Regions from separate parts of the Homo sapiens genome. Here all the other regions are linked to region 4. Evidence: promoter capture Hi-C in human tissues and cell types (Jung and others, 2019). All regions are on one chromosome and are shown on one strand. The core of a region is centred on a gene start or on the middle of the fragment in contact, and the rest is flanking DNA. Distances in the headings are between cores, read along the strand shown.

What was found. Contacts are between HindIII fragments. The study calls those that stand out against the background at their distance.
Region 1: a fragment that was not itself captured here is called in contact with the fragment with the promoter of SYT1 in region 4 in 4 of the 25 tissues and cell types used here (adrenal gland, mesenchymal stem cells, spleen and 1 more).
Region 2: a contact is called between a fragment that was not itself captured here and the fragment with the promoter of SYT1 in region 4, in 4 of the 25 tissues and cell types used here (dorsolateral prefrontal cortex, liver, lymphoblastoid cells and 1 more).
Region 3: a contact is called between a fragment that was not itself captured here and the fragment with the promoter of SYT1 in region 4, in 4 of the 25 tissues and cell types used here (dorsolateral prefrontal cortex, hippocampus, mesendoderm cells and 1 more).
Region 5: a fragment that was not itself captured here is called in contact with the fragment with the promoter of SYT1 in region 4 in 2 of the 25 tissues and cell types used here (hippocampus and lymphoblastoid cells).

Annotation. Positions count from the first base shown.
Region 1 is chr12:78,792,801-78,795,500 of GRCh38, forward strand. It overlaps the pseudogene LOC642550. Among named protein-coding and RNA genes, the nearest start is that of SYT1, 71 kb to the right of the region's middle. RefSeq lists an enhancer at 587-1,786. The HindIII fragment of the contact is 4,145 bases long and covers 1-2,700 here.
Region 2 is chr12:78,953,966-78,956,665 of GRCh38, forward strand. All of the region lies in intron 1 of SYT1 (synaptotagmin 1), which reads left to right. All of the region lies in intron 5 of LOC105369863 (a long non-coding RNA gene), which reads right to left. Among named protein-coding and RNA genes, the nearest start is that of SYT1, 91 kb to the left of the region's middle. The HindIII fragment of the contact is 3,775 bases long and covers 1-2,700 here.
Region 3 is chr12:78,932,791-78,935,490 of GRCh38, forward strand. The region is part of intron 1 of SYT1 (synaptotagmin 1); the gene reads left to right. All of the region lies in intron 6 of LOC105369863 (a long non-coding RNA gene), which reads right to left. Among named protein-coding and RNA genes, the nearest start is that of SYT1, 69 kb to the left of the region's middle. The HindIII fragment of the contact is 4,770 bases long and covers 1-2,700 here.
Region 4 is chr12:78,863,524-78,866,304 of GRCh38, forward strand. SYT1 (synaptotagmin 1) reads left to right here and starts at 1,251. Exons shown (of 11, transcript NM_005639.3): 1 at 1,251-1,586. RefSeq lists a silencer at 35-94. The HindIII fragment of the contact is 3,235 bases long and covers 1-1,615 here.
Region 5 is chr12:78,769,101-78,771,983 of GRCh38, forward strand. No RefSeq gene overlaps it. Among named protein-coding and RNA genes, the nearest start is that of SYT1, 94 kb to the right of the region's middle. The HindIII fragment of the contact is 6,830 bases long and covers 1-2,883 here.

The DNA.
Region 1 (2,700 bases), core at 188-2,687, 71 kb before region 4:
CAGTACTCCATGCTGGGCATATATTTTCTCACCATGACACATGGGGCAGTGGAACCCTGGTGTCAGCAAGAACACATCCAGAATGATATAACTGGGTGTTTTTCAGTTTCTAAATTAAGGTATATTCAAAAATTTCCATGTACACATTTACAGCACTTTTCTAAATTACTCAACAGGTAATTAAATCAGATTCACAGATGAATTACTCTCAGTTTAACTACATGCAACAACCATACCAATAACTTTTTCTTCTAAATTTTGCATAACGATGGTTTAAAAAAAAGTGGTACAGTTTATCATGTTCACAATTGTCATTTTTCAAGGTAGTAGAAGACCAATATATTTTAAAATGATATAAAATTTAAGCTTTATTTAAAAAAACACGAGAGAAAGTCACCTTTCCTCCCATTCCCCACCCCCATCTCACCTCTTTAACATTTCAAGAAAGACTGCCTGAGAAAAGCAAGCTCATATGCTACATTCAGGACGATGATAAATGTAGGCAATAATGAAATAAGTTGAACTTTGCCTCTTGGTAAAGCCACATTTATTTCTTTTTTAAGTAAATTTGACTTTTATTGCAGTTCCAATTCATGCTTTTAGTGATATACAACAATTTCCAAAATGTTAAAGTAATTTCAGTAATTGAGCCTTCAATGGCAATGCTTATAAATTATATTTATTAGTATGGTCAAGATAAGAAAGGAATTTGGACTTTGATTATAAAATGCAGCACCTTTCTCTGATTCTCTTGGCTGAACTTTTCCTCTTCTTTTTTCCATTCTTTTCTTTGCTGTCTTCCATCTTTTTTGCTCGAATTTCTCTCATTAAATCAAAAAGTACCTTGTCAACATTAGCTGTGTTTTAGCAGATGTTTCCACATAGTTAACATTCCACTGGTCAGCTCTGTTTTTTGCCTCTTTTACAGAAACCGGCCTTTTATCTTCTAAATCTGATTTGTTACCAACCAGTAGAAATGGAACATTCTCATCTTCTTTTACTCTTAAAATCTGCTCCCTGAAGTCAGCTGTAGCTGCAAAGGATTCCATTTCTGTAATAGAGAAGACACAGAGAAACCCCTCTCTGCTTCGGAAATAGTTGTCCCTAATTGCAGCATAGTCCTCCTGCCCAGCTGTTTCTAAGATACCGATCTGTACTTCCTCGCCATCCAGTACTACTCTCTTCCGATAGGTGCCTTCTTTGATCGTACATGAACTGTAGAGTCAGAGCTGCCTTGCCCACACCGGCACTGCCCACCGTGATGACTTTGTGTAAGGCCAAATTATTCTGACCCTTGGGCTTATTTGCGGCCATCTTGTGTTGTAGTTCTCACCAACAGGTTAGGAAGAATCTGCACCGTGAGCCAGTCCGCCGCCCCGAGGGCTCCGGAAGCAGCGGGTGCTCGGCCCACGTCGCCTGCGAGGCCCCGCACTGGGAGCAGTCGAAGGAGGAGTCTTTATTATTTCTATTTCACCTATGATGAATATGATCCTCAGTCGGCCAAGGTCACAAAGCTTTTAAGAGGTAATACCAGAATTCATACCCAGATAGTTCTGTCTCCTAATGTAGTGCTTTTCAAATATTGACGTGCATGAGATTCACTAGGATATATTATTAAACGCAGATGTTTATTCCATGGGTCTAAAGTGTATCTGAGATTCATTGTTTCTAACAAACTGCCAGGTGATCTCAATGTTGCTGCTGATGTACCCCACTTTGAATAGCAAGGTCCTAAAAAGTTGAATCCTGAGATATGGAAAGGACGATAAATACAAGAGTAGCCTGTTGGAGCATTTGGAATCACACAAAAAGAGTAATTAGGCTCTTGTCTTATTTTTTTCTCCTACAAGGCAAAAATCTTAGTAAGCAGCAAGACCGTTTATTACACATCCTCTAACATAGAGCAACAATCAAGAGTTGAACAAAAATAATGGGATAATGGACATAAGCAACCAAACCATGGCATTCTCTTCTGGGGAAGCAGGGGTGGTGGTGGAAAGGCCTTGGGTTTCAGCAGGCTTTTGCAAATGACTTCTGTATCAGTTACCTGTGGGTTTGACCACATCTTTTCCCCTATAAATCAGGATGCTATGTTGATTACCGAGAAAGGAAGTAAAATGGAAAAATATTCTTTTTTATTATTATTTTGCAGAAACTGAGCATACCTTGCATGAGACCGCCTAAGTCATTGTGCTCAACTGTGCTTAAAAATTTTGCATCTCAGTTAGATATCAGTCCTTATCCCGACAGAAAACAATATATTGAAAAGGCCAAGCAATAATCCTTCAAGTGCTTCTAAGTGTTCAAGTGAAGGAAAGAGTTATTCATCTTCCTTTAAATCAGAAGCTAGACATGATTCAACTTAATCAGGAAGGCATGTCAAAAGCCAAGATAGGCCAAAAGCTAGGCCTCTTGCACCAAACAGTTGGCCAAGTTGTAAATGCAGAGAAAAGATTATTGAAAGAAATTAAAAGTGCTACCCCAGTGAACCCATGATTAATTAAAGGGGAAAAAAAAGGGCCGGGTGCGGTGGCTCACGCCTGTAATCCCAGCACTTTGGGAGGCCGAGGTGGGCGGATCACGAGGTCAGGAGATCGAGACCATCCTGGCTAACATGGTGAAACCCCGTCTCTACTAAAAAATACAAAAAATTAGCTGGGCATGGTGGCGGGCACCTGTAGTTCTAGCTACTCAGGAGGC
Region 2 (2,700 bases), core at 18-2,517, 90 kb after region 4:
TCAGTGATATTAAGGCAAATTATTCAGATTCACATGGTGAACAAAGGCACTTCATAGAATTCTTGGACTACTTAGAGAATCAGAGAGATACTTTCTCTAGCTGCTACTTCATTTGTGGCCTTAGAGAAATAATGCATTAATCTCCAATTAGATCATGTCATCTTTCAGGATGTTTAGCTAAGGTGAAATGTGTAATTAAACATTTTAAATTGCATGTCACCTCCACCCACAGGGTTGACACATGTTTTCTTTTTGGTATAGTTTTGTGTAAGGATTCACTCAGTATATCCAGAAGTCACCTTGACCATGAAAATAAATCTGCTGCAAATTACAGCCTCACAATTAACTCAAACATTATCATCTATTATTTGTGTTCTCTGACTTGAGGAGCAGGTATTTGATTTTTTTCCACTTTTTACTTATTAACATAACTTTTATATTTGAATATATAGTAATTTTTTAAATTACCAAAATGATAGCAGGTATTAAGTGACAGTCTTCAGAATGATCCTATGTGGTACCCTGTGTAGCTTTTCTTATAATAAAAATATACATGGAACATCAGAGAGAGAGAGAGAAAGAGAGAAAGAAAAATATATGTAAATATCTTTTTAATATTGAGCTAATTTAAGCTTCATCAGTTTGTTGTGCATATGATATTTACCCTACAGATTTGTTTTCAATAATGGTATACTATGATGAATAACTTTAAATAGAAGTATTTTTCATTTAGAACTTTGTTGAATATTAGCACATGAGGGAAAAATAAAATATGTAACTCATCTATCTGTGTAAAATAATAAATGCTAGATCTAAAGGAGCCATTTGCTAAAATGTACTTAAACAAATGCATATTGCCTGCATTATATTTCTCTACTCTTTTATTGCACTATTAGTCAGAAATTTAAATTCTATTTTTGAGCTTGTGATTATCCTGAATACTAAGTGAAAGGGAAGTGATGATGGAATTTTTATTTTAATGATAACAACAGTTTTCAAGGGAGATAATCAAAATCTTTTTCTGAAGTTTGAAGATGAGAAAACTGTGTAAATCCATCTGCTGAGTTCATGTGCCTTTTGAGATTTGCTTTTCTGTCTTTTAATTTCACATTTCTGGTTTTTAAATTATTTCTCCTATAAAAGAATTTTTTGATGTCATTAATGCCGTTTCATTTTGAAATGACGGTTAAACAGAGTTTCTAATAATTCAACAGTTCTGTTTGGTTTTGTACAACATGTTATATTCAGGTGATATCTGAATGATCAACTGGATCAAAATTCAGAAGACAAGAAAAGCGTTGCTTGATCGATTTTCAAACACACATTCAGGTTTTGTCCATAGATCTTGAATGCCATAACACCAGTTGTGCCTCAGGGAAAAGCATATGCTTACTTGTCACATAGATTTTTAGTTGGTATGTTAGACCATTTGGGTCATTATAACAAAATACCTTAGACCGGGTAATTTATAAATAACAGAAATGTATTACTTACAGTTCTGGAAGCTGGAAACTCCTGGATCAAGGCCCTGGCAGATTCTGTCTGGTGAGAGCCCATTCCTTATGGTGGTAACTTCTATATGTCTTCCCACCACAGAAGGGGTAAGCAAGCTTCTTGGCCTCTTTTATAAAGGCACTAATTCCATTCATGAGGGCAGAGCCCCCCCAAAGGCCCACCTCTTAATGCCATTTTTGGAGACACAACATTCAAACCACAGCAATTGGTTTTAGTGTCATTGAACTACAAGCTTTATAAGGACCAGAAAGAAACTTTTTTTTTTGCCCTTAACCTAACAGTTTTCTGGGTCCATGCGTTTTATTTTCTGCCAAGATATTTGTGTGTGTGTGTGTGTGTGTGTGTGTGTGTGTGTGTGCATGTAGAGAGAGAGAGAGAGAGAAGCACTCAAATGCAATGTCTGCACTATCAATTGCATTTTCCCCTATCTTTTGAAATTTCAAGTTCAAACTCGTAGTTTAATATTTTTCTTTGGCTGAAAATAAATGAGTTGATCTGTGTGGAATGGGGTGATAAAAGAGGTCAAGGTGTGTGGGTAAGGATGGAAACTTCTATAATATGAAAAAATACTGCAATGAAGGTGCAGTATGAGGGTGCTTTACTTCTCTATTGAACACAGATACTTTTTGAATGGAAATGTGGTATGTAGTAATTTGGGAGAGAGTATCTTAGTAATAATGGAGTACCAACATTGACAGAATGACTGGTATGGGGGGGCAGAATGTGCATTTAATAAATATTTCACAAAAGTGCAATAACAGTCTGAGAAATACCTGGAACATTTTAACATAAGATATTAATATAAAACACAGACAAATAATCTGGAGACACACTTATTGAGTTTGAATCCTAGCTCTTCTCCTTTTTTTTTCCATGATGGGCAATTTGTTTAACTTCCCTGAGCCTCAGTTTCCTCATGGGTAAAATTGGGGAAACAGTAGCATCTATTTCATTAAATTGTCTTGATGGTTAACTGAGTTAATATCTCTCTCCCTACCCCTGCTAGAAAGAAAACTTGAGGAGGTTTTAACGTGTTTCAGGAATGTGGCCCAAACACCTGAAACAATGATGAAAATCATTTTAAACTTAAAATAGGCATCAAAAATGAAAAAAAAAAAGTGTTTATTGTCAAAAATAATGACATTTGTGCAGAGGTTCTGTATTTTAGTAGCCAATTACTCTGTA
Region 3 (2,700 bases), core at 123-2,622, 69 kb after region 4:
TTTTATTCACTTGGATAAGAGGGAGTCCATTCTACTAAGTCAGTTCTTGTATTAAAATAATTATTCATTTTGTTTCATCATTTCAATTATAGGCGCATAAATTCTTATATCTTGTCTCAAACACAAAATCTCAGAACGTCTTACTTTCATGCAAAAAAACTAAGTTCTAAAAAAGCAAATTTATATCACCTTAAGACGTCCAAAAGTATAAAGGTTATTGGACATCACTCCTGGTATCCTTGGAAATATTTGTTTGATTTTGAAGAAAGCCTCTAAGCAGTCAAGTTGAGTAATATTTTTAACTTACTCTTCTCGACTTTGAAAGAGTGCACCTGTGAAGAAATATCTAGGGCATAGATATTTCCTCATCTCTCTTTATCATCTTGCTTTCTACCATGTTGGTCTGCATATGGTTAGATGAATCTGTGTGACTAATACCAGGGCAATCTTGACCTCAGTGTATCAACTTCTGTGAGCCTGTCTTGTCTAAAATGAATTTGGCTGAGTTATAGAGCCTCTAAGAAACTCTTACCAGAGGAAGGAAGACAAAAGTTTGCGGTGGGAAAGTGAAGAGGTCAAAAAAGGAGCTAGAACTTACTAAATAAACATTTTAGCATATATTATCAATATAAGAGTAACCCAGGAAAATCATTGTTATGGCTTCTATATTCTTGAATTTAGTAGTAAAAATAATTTGATTTTGGCTTAAATGTAATGTTCTATTTCTTAAGGTCCTGTTTCTCAAGGTCCCATTTCTTTTCACTCTACTTGTCAAGTTCAAGACCATTTAAAAAATTAGTATTTTGCTAGTACAGTTTATTAATAACCATCTCATTTAAAAGATAGAGATATATGTCAGGTGCACTCAACTTTATGTTTCAGATCACCTTGGATACTGTTTTAGCATTAGTTTAATAATTTTTGATAATTCATCATAAACTTCCATCACAGATATTAGCATAAATTCTACAGGCCAATTTTTTTAATAAATCCTTGTTTTACCTCATCAAGAGAGAAATAAAGAGTGAGAGAAAAGTGAAAGAGAGATTGAGATGGGGTAGAATCCGATAACATTAAAATTTAAGGGAACATGCCTGCTTTGTGTGTTTGTCTGTTTGGTTATTTCCAGAAACATAGGAATCTCAGTAGGAGAAATTGAGTATAATGTTCTGTATTTAAGGGATGCAGTTTATATGTCTTTTTGGTCAATACAGTTATTCCCTTTATTCAGGGGGATATGTTCCAAGACCCCCAATGGATGCCTGAACCACAGATAGTAGTAAACCCTATATACACTGTTTTTACATATATATATGTGTGTATATACATATGTGTGTGTATATATGTGTGTGTGTGTATGTGCGTGTGTACACACACACACATACACACACACACACACACCATACCTGTTGATATGGTCTGGCTGTGTCCCCATCCAAATCTCACCTTGAATAACCGTCATGTGTCAAGGACAGGGCCAGGTGGAGATAATTGAATCACAGGGTGAATCACTTGAGTCAAGGAGTTCAAGACCAGCCTGGGCAACAGGGCAAAAACCTATCTCTACAAAAACAAACAAACAAACAAAACAAAACAATTAGCCAGGTGTGGTGGTGCACATCTGTAGTCTCAGCTACCCAGGAAGCTGAGATGGGAGGATCACCTGAGCCTGTGGGGTTGAGGCTGCAGTGAGCCATGATTGTGCCATTGCACTTTAGCCTGGATAATAGAGCAAGACTCTGTCTCAAAAAACAAACAAATAAAACGAAATAACAACAACAGAAAAAACACTTGTCTTACATCATGTCCGGAATTGAAAACACCTGTCACGCAGTCAAAAACTAGATTAATTTTCTATGTGGAATATAGAAAAAGAAAGAAGTTGAAGTGGAAAATCTGGAGCAAAATATTTATATTGAAATAAAATCTGAACATTTTTTTGAAAAGATACACTGAAATTTACTACACAAATAAGTCAAGGCTCTCTCTAAAGAATGTGGCATATAATTTTTGTCTTTAGAAAGTATTAGAAGCATGGTGATGGCTGCACGGCCTCCACATTCTCTGCGGGTAGATGAAATCTTGAATTTAGGAATTCAAGCAGATCGTGCTTTCTGCCCTTAGAGAAAAGGTATTACATGTTGGTAACTGAGGTATAAAATAACCAAAGCCCAGATCTCGTCTCGTGCTCCACGGAAATCATGCCTCGCCCGAGTCTATAATTGGCTGAATTCATTTCCAATGAATGAAATGCAAAAACATGGAAAAGACTAAAATTGAAATTTTATAATTTAAAAGATTTAAACTGTGAGGATGGTACATCCTTGACCTAGAGAATTTTGAATCTGTCTTTGGACAGGTGGGCAACCATAGGAAGCAAGTAGGTGTCTGGAGATGGCTGCAGAGACATCCCGTCCCCTCGGTAGCACTGATTGCATTTTCCATGAAGGTTGCTCTTAACTTCAAAGCAGACACTCTGCTGTGAAGGTTCTGAGAGGTTAGTTCTGGGTCTCGTTGTTTCAATTAATCATTTATTCAATTAATAAATTTTGAGCTCCTGCTGTGAATCAGGCAGTATGCTAGGCCCTGTGGCTACAATATAGGCATGGTTCATGTTTTCAGCAAACGACATTTTACTGCTTTGGTAAAAATAACAATTCATCAGAAGAAAGGCTATATACTAAGTTATAGAACAGAACA
Region 4 (2,781 bases), core at 1-2,500:
GATAATGGACGGGCCCCTCTCCCAGCTGGGCTCCGCTCCCGCCCCTAGCCTGGCGCGCGGTCCCTTCCCCCACCCGCTGAGCCTTCCTGTTCGGTATTTCGGTATTACCAAGCTATAAATTGCCTGAGAGCTTAGAGACAATCAGGTCACCACCGCCCTCACAAGAGAAAAGCTTCTTACTTCCGAGCAGAACGGTTCAGCTGGGAAGAGAGGAAGCAGGGAGAGAATCTATGCTTTAGTCGTCACTGCTCTGGCAAGGGGTCGAGAGAGATGGGGGAGGGAGGTGGCAAAAAATAAAAATGAAAAAATAAAAAAGCATCTCCAACAATGTTGCACTTGACCCAAGTGTACAAACTTATTGGTCGCTGCAATGGAAACTCCCAGTGCACTCTCCACGGCCTGGCAGCCGCCGCTGATGGGTGGAGTCGCGCTCCCGGCCCCACCTATGGGACGGAGCTGCTTCTCCCGCATCTCGGCTCCACCGCACCCTTCGCGGGAAGTCCCCAGGCTTCCAGCAAAGCTCAGCTTATCCCGCCCCCGCTTCCAACCCGGAACCCCAGAAGAACAGCATGATGAGCCTCCGGCAGCCAGGTGGGCCACCTCCCCGCGGCTCAGTTTGAGGACACTTGTGCGGAACCCTTTCACATCCCCACCCTACCCAGCTTTCACAACTCCGCCGGGTTAAATGGCCAAAGACAAACTTCTACCTCTCCTGTCCCCGGTCCCAGCTTTTCAAAAACCCACAGCTGGCGAACCCACACACATCGAAACTCCTAGGTCGCTGTTGCAGTCTGGGCATGCTCAGTATCAGGGTAGGTTTTGATTGAGAGTAAAAAAAAAAAAAAAAAAGCTTTGTATTATGCTCTCTTTCTCCTGTGCATACTGCTTGCTGAACAGCTTGTGGGGCATTCCTGAGTCTACCTAGAGGTTTTATCAGACGCCCTTGATTGTGTCTCCTTGGGATCTGTTCCCCTCTTACTTCACCCCCTCCCCCAACCCGCCTCCACCCCGCTTCCCAGGTCCCTGTCCGCTGTGGGGATGGAGAGACACTAACAGAACTGGGATGGGCGATGTTGGCTGAACGGATCCACCTATTATTAGTGCGCGGGGATTGGCTCCTTGGCGCAGCGTACCCGAGGTGGAGCCAATCAGGATGCTGGGGCTCGGAGATGATGGGCGGCCGCCTCCTCACTGGAGGGATTCCTGGAGAAGCTGCAGTGTGGGGATGCTCTAGACCGAGTACTGCCCCCAGTGTCTTTCCACCTCCTCCTGCAGCAGCGGCAGCGGCAGCAGCAGTTAGCAGCGGCAACTTGAGGCTGCACCCCGGGCAAGTCCCCAGGGTGGTGCTCAGCCGAGAGGGGGGCTTGGCGCCCCGAAGGGGTGTGTGTAGGGTGGGGGCGACCACGTGGGACCAGCTGGTGGCCCTGGAAAACCTCCCACACACCCACACCCACACACCCCTTTTGTGTTGCAGGCTGCCCCTCCAAGAGCGGAGGCAGCGAGAGTACGCGTGTGCCTCGCGCCGGTCCACGCGGGGAGAGCACTGGGGACCGAGACCCGGCACCACCTCCCGGTCCGCCCTCCAGGTAAGGAAGCGGGACTGGCGGCGCGGCCACCTCGGCGGTGCCTATCTGCTCGAATCCATCCCAAAGATTTTCTTCTCGATACACTTGGGTTTTAGTGGTGGGAGTCTGAGACCTAGGGAGGGATCCCCGGGTGGCCTATTGTGAGAAATATGAGACTACATGTGCATCTCCTGGAAAAGCACTTTGCACAGCGCCCGTGATTTAGAGCCTGGAGTTGATGTTGGGCATCCCCCATCTTCTTGCTTCCTCTTTCCTTCTCTTGTTCTCTCTCCTCCGTCCCCCACCCCCAATCTCAATCTTTTCTCTCTTTCTCTCCCACACCTCCCCTCTCGCCCTCCTCCCACCCTAAGCACGCACAGCGTTTCTTTCTCCTCCTGGAGAGGATTGCCTTTCTTAGAGGAAAGAGGGGGAGTGAAGAAAGGAGAAAGATTTCTTTCTGTTGGGGAGAGGGATATGGGGGGGGGGGGGAACGTAAACAAGATAGAATACAAGCTCTGCGAAAATCAGAGCACATAAAGCAATTAAACTGAATAAGGGGAGTAGACAACCAGTCCAGCTTGGGCTGTCAGAGAGAGGAAGCGTCAAGTTTGACTTGATTTCCTCCTTGCAAGAGTCTATGTCTCTCACTTGATTCGTTCAAATGGAACAAAAATAAACCGACAATCCAACCCACTTTCAACTGCTTAATTGCTTTTGCTTTTGAGTGCCAACCATCTGACTTTTCCTGTTTCCATCTGTCCTGTGGGGCTAACAATTTGGTATTGCACATCAGTGTTAATATCTGAACTTTGAAAGCTTTCTTGAGTAACAAAAAAAAAAAAACAATTAAAATAGATTATTACTTTCCTGAGGTTTCTTGGTATGGCCTGTTGTTGGGGGATCAAAAAATGTAAAGTTTCAAAACATTTGCAAGGGACAACAATTTTATAGGGAGGCTTGGATTTCTACTTTGAGAAAGCTAATCTTCTAGTTAGCTTTGTGTACATGTTGATATTCACTTTCTCCAGTATTAACCCTTTCGTGAAATAAAGCAACTGTTTAACTTTTGTATGGAAGCTACATTTGTGTAGAATTTTCACTTTATTCTACCTTTGTACTATTTGCATTTTATTGTCTGGATACCAAACTTATGCCTGGCTTTATTTTCTTTTAATAGGACAATATTTAATGGATGTAAACATGATGTTTATACAAT
Region 5 (2,883 bases), core at 168-2,667, 94 kb before region 4:
GCAAAGGAAACAATCAACTGAGTGAAAAGACAGCCTACACAATGCGAGAAAATACAAGCCGTACATATGATAAGTGGTTAATATGCAAAATATAGAAAAAACTCAATTCAATAGCAAGAAAACAATCTGATTTTAAAATGGGCAAAGGTCCTGAACAGATTTTTCAAAAGAGGATACACAAATGTCCAGCAGGTATTTGGAAAAAATGCTCATCGTCAGGAAAATAGAAATTAAAACCATAATGAAATATCACCTTTCTCCAGGTAGAACAGCTATTATCTAAAAGACAAAAGATAAATGTTGGAGAAAATGCGAAGAAATGGGAATTCATGCACACTGTTGGTGAGAATATAAATTAACACAGTCATTATGGAAAACAATATGGAAGTTCCTCAATAAACCAAAATTAGAACTAACATATAATCCGGCAATCCCATATGGGTATTTATCCAAAGGAAATAAAATAATCATGTTGTGGATATATCTGCACTCCCATGTTTGTTGCAGCATTATTCACAATAGCCAACATATGGAATCAACCTAAAATATCCATCAACAGATGAATGAAGAAAATATGGTATACATACACAATGGAATACTATTCAGCTAAGAAAAAGAAAATTCTCTCATTTGGGGCAGCAATGATGAACCTGGAGGACATTATGTCAAGTGAAATAAGCCAGACAGAGAAAAACAAATATTGTATGATTTCACATGTATGTTGATTCTAAAAAAGTAGAACTCATAGAGGTAGAGAGTAGAATGGTGATTAACAGGGATTTGGATGGTGGTGGGAGAGGAGGTTTGGAAGATGTTAGTCAAAAGTTACAAAGTTTCAGGAAGATAGAAGGAGTAAGTTCAAGAGATTTATTGTACAGCATGGTGACTATAGTTAAGAACAATGTATTATATTTTGTATTCCAATTTTTTAAATTATGTATTGTAATCTCAAAAAATTTTAAGGGAGGTCTTATGTTCTCACCACAAAAATTATAACTATGTGAGGTAATGTATATTTTAATTAGCTTGACTTAGCCATTCCCCAATGTATACATTTTTCAAAATATCACGTTGTTCACAGAAAATATACAATCTGTCATTTTCAAAATAAAATGAAACTTACAATAGTGTAGTTCCAATTACTCTATTCTCTTCTTTATGTTGTTGTTATGATTTACCTCTACAAAGTTTACAAACTTTACAATAATACCCTTTTTATTTTTTAGTCAATTGACTTTTGAAGAAATCAAGAGAAGAAAAAATATATATTCCTTCATATTTACCCACATATTTGCCACTCTGGTGGTCTTCATTCTTCCTGCAGATCTGAAATTCTATCTGGTATCAGTAACTTTCAGTCTAAAATATTTTCTTTAGCATATTTTGAAGTGTATATTCATTAGTAACTAATTTTCTCATCTTTTGTTTATCTGGAAATTTTAATTTTCATCCTCATCTTTGAGAGATATACATACAACATTTTGTTATATGTTGTTGTATATATGTTATATGTTGTTATATGTTGTTATAGTACATACAACATTTTGGGGTTTTGACTGTTTTGTTAGTATTTTTGTTCCAGCACTTTAAAGATATCATCACATAATGATATTACATAGACAATATCACTCCACTATCTTCTAGCCTCCATTTTTCCTACCAATGAAAAGTCTGCTGTCATGATATTCATATTTTTCTATATTTGATGTATGTTTTCCTTTATACTTAATTTTCAAAAATGGACTAAGATACAGTATGTGTGGTTTTCTTTGTATTTATCCTTCTTAGAGTTCACCAAGCTTATTTATCTACAAGTTGATATTTTGCCCTGAAATTAGAGAAATTTCTGATATTATTTCTTCGAATATATTTTTCTTTCCCATTCTCTCTCTATTTTCTTTCTTGGACTCCAGCATGCAATGGTAAACTGGCTGATATTGCCTTATGGTTACTGAAGCTGTATTCCTTTGTTTTTCAACCTTTCTTTCCTCAGATCTTGTCATGGAATTATTTTTGTTTGTCTTTGAATTCTGACCTTTTATTTTTTAGTCTCAAGTTTGTTGTTATATTCATTTAGAACATTTTAAAATTGTCAGATATTATAATTTTAGTATTAAAATTTTCATTTGGTTCTTGTTTCCTATTTCTCTATTGAGATTTTCTATATATTAATTATTTATATCTTTTATGTAAATCACTGAACATATTACTACTAGTTACAGTGAAGTCTTTGTCTGCTAATTCCAGCATCTAGGTCATCCTGAAGGTCTGTTTTTATTAACTGTCACCTTCATTTCTGGCCACATACTCTTGTTTCTTTATACTTCTAATATTATTTGTTTTAAATTATATTCTGGACACTGTGGTTGATGTGCTGTAGAGAATCTGAATGTTGTCTTCCTTAAAGAATATCATATTTTGTTTATTTGGACAAATCAATTACTGTAACACTACTTTATCAATTACACAAATTGATAAGCCACAAATTTGTCTATGAGACTCCTAGTAAACAGAGGAAAGAAGAACAGTGAACACAGTATCAATAATGCTAAAAGAAAATCCATATATTTAGGAGAGATAATTATTTTTGACTTGCCAGAATGGTGTGTGTGTGTTTTATTTTTCCTTCTTTGTGCATATTCTCCACAGCTCTCAGCCAAGTACATAAAGGGACCTCTATCAGAGTTCTGTGTCCATCTCTCTGTCCAGCTGTCTCCTCTTTGGTACCTTACCCAGTACATTCCAGACACCTCAGCAGCATTTCCAACATCTGCCTCTTCAACTTAGCAAGACTTCTGTGCTCTACTTCATTTCTATATCCTTGTAGCACCATCTAGAAAGAGATCACAGGTAGAAAGCAAGGGTAAATGTGCAGTTCACCTC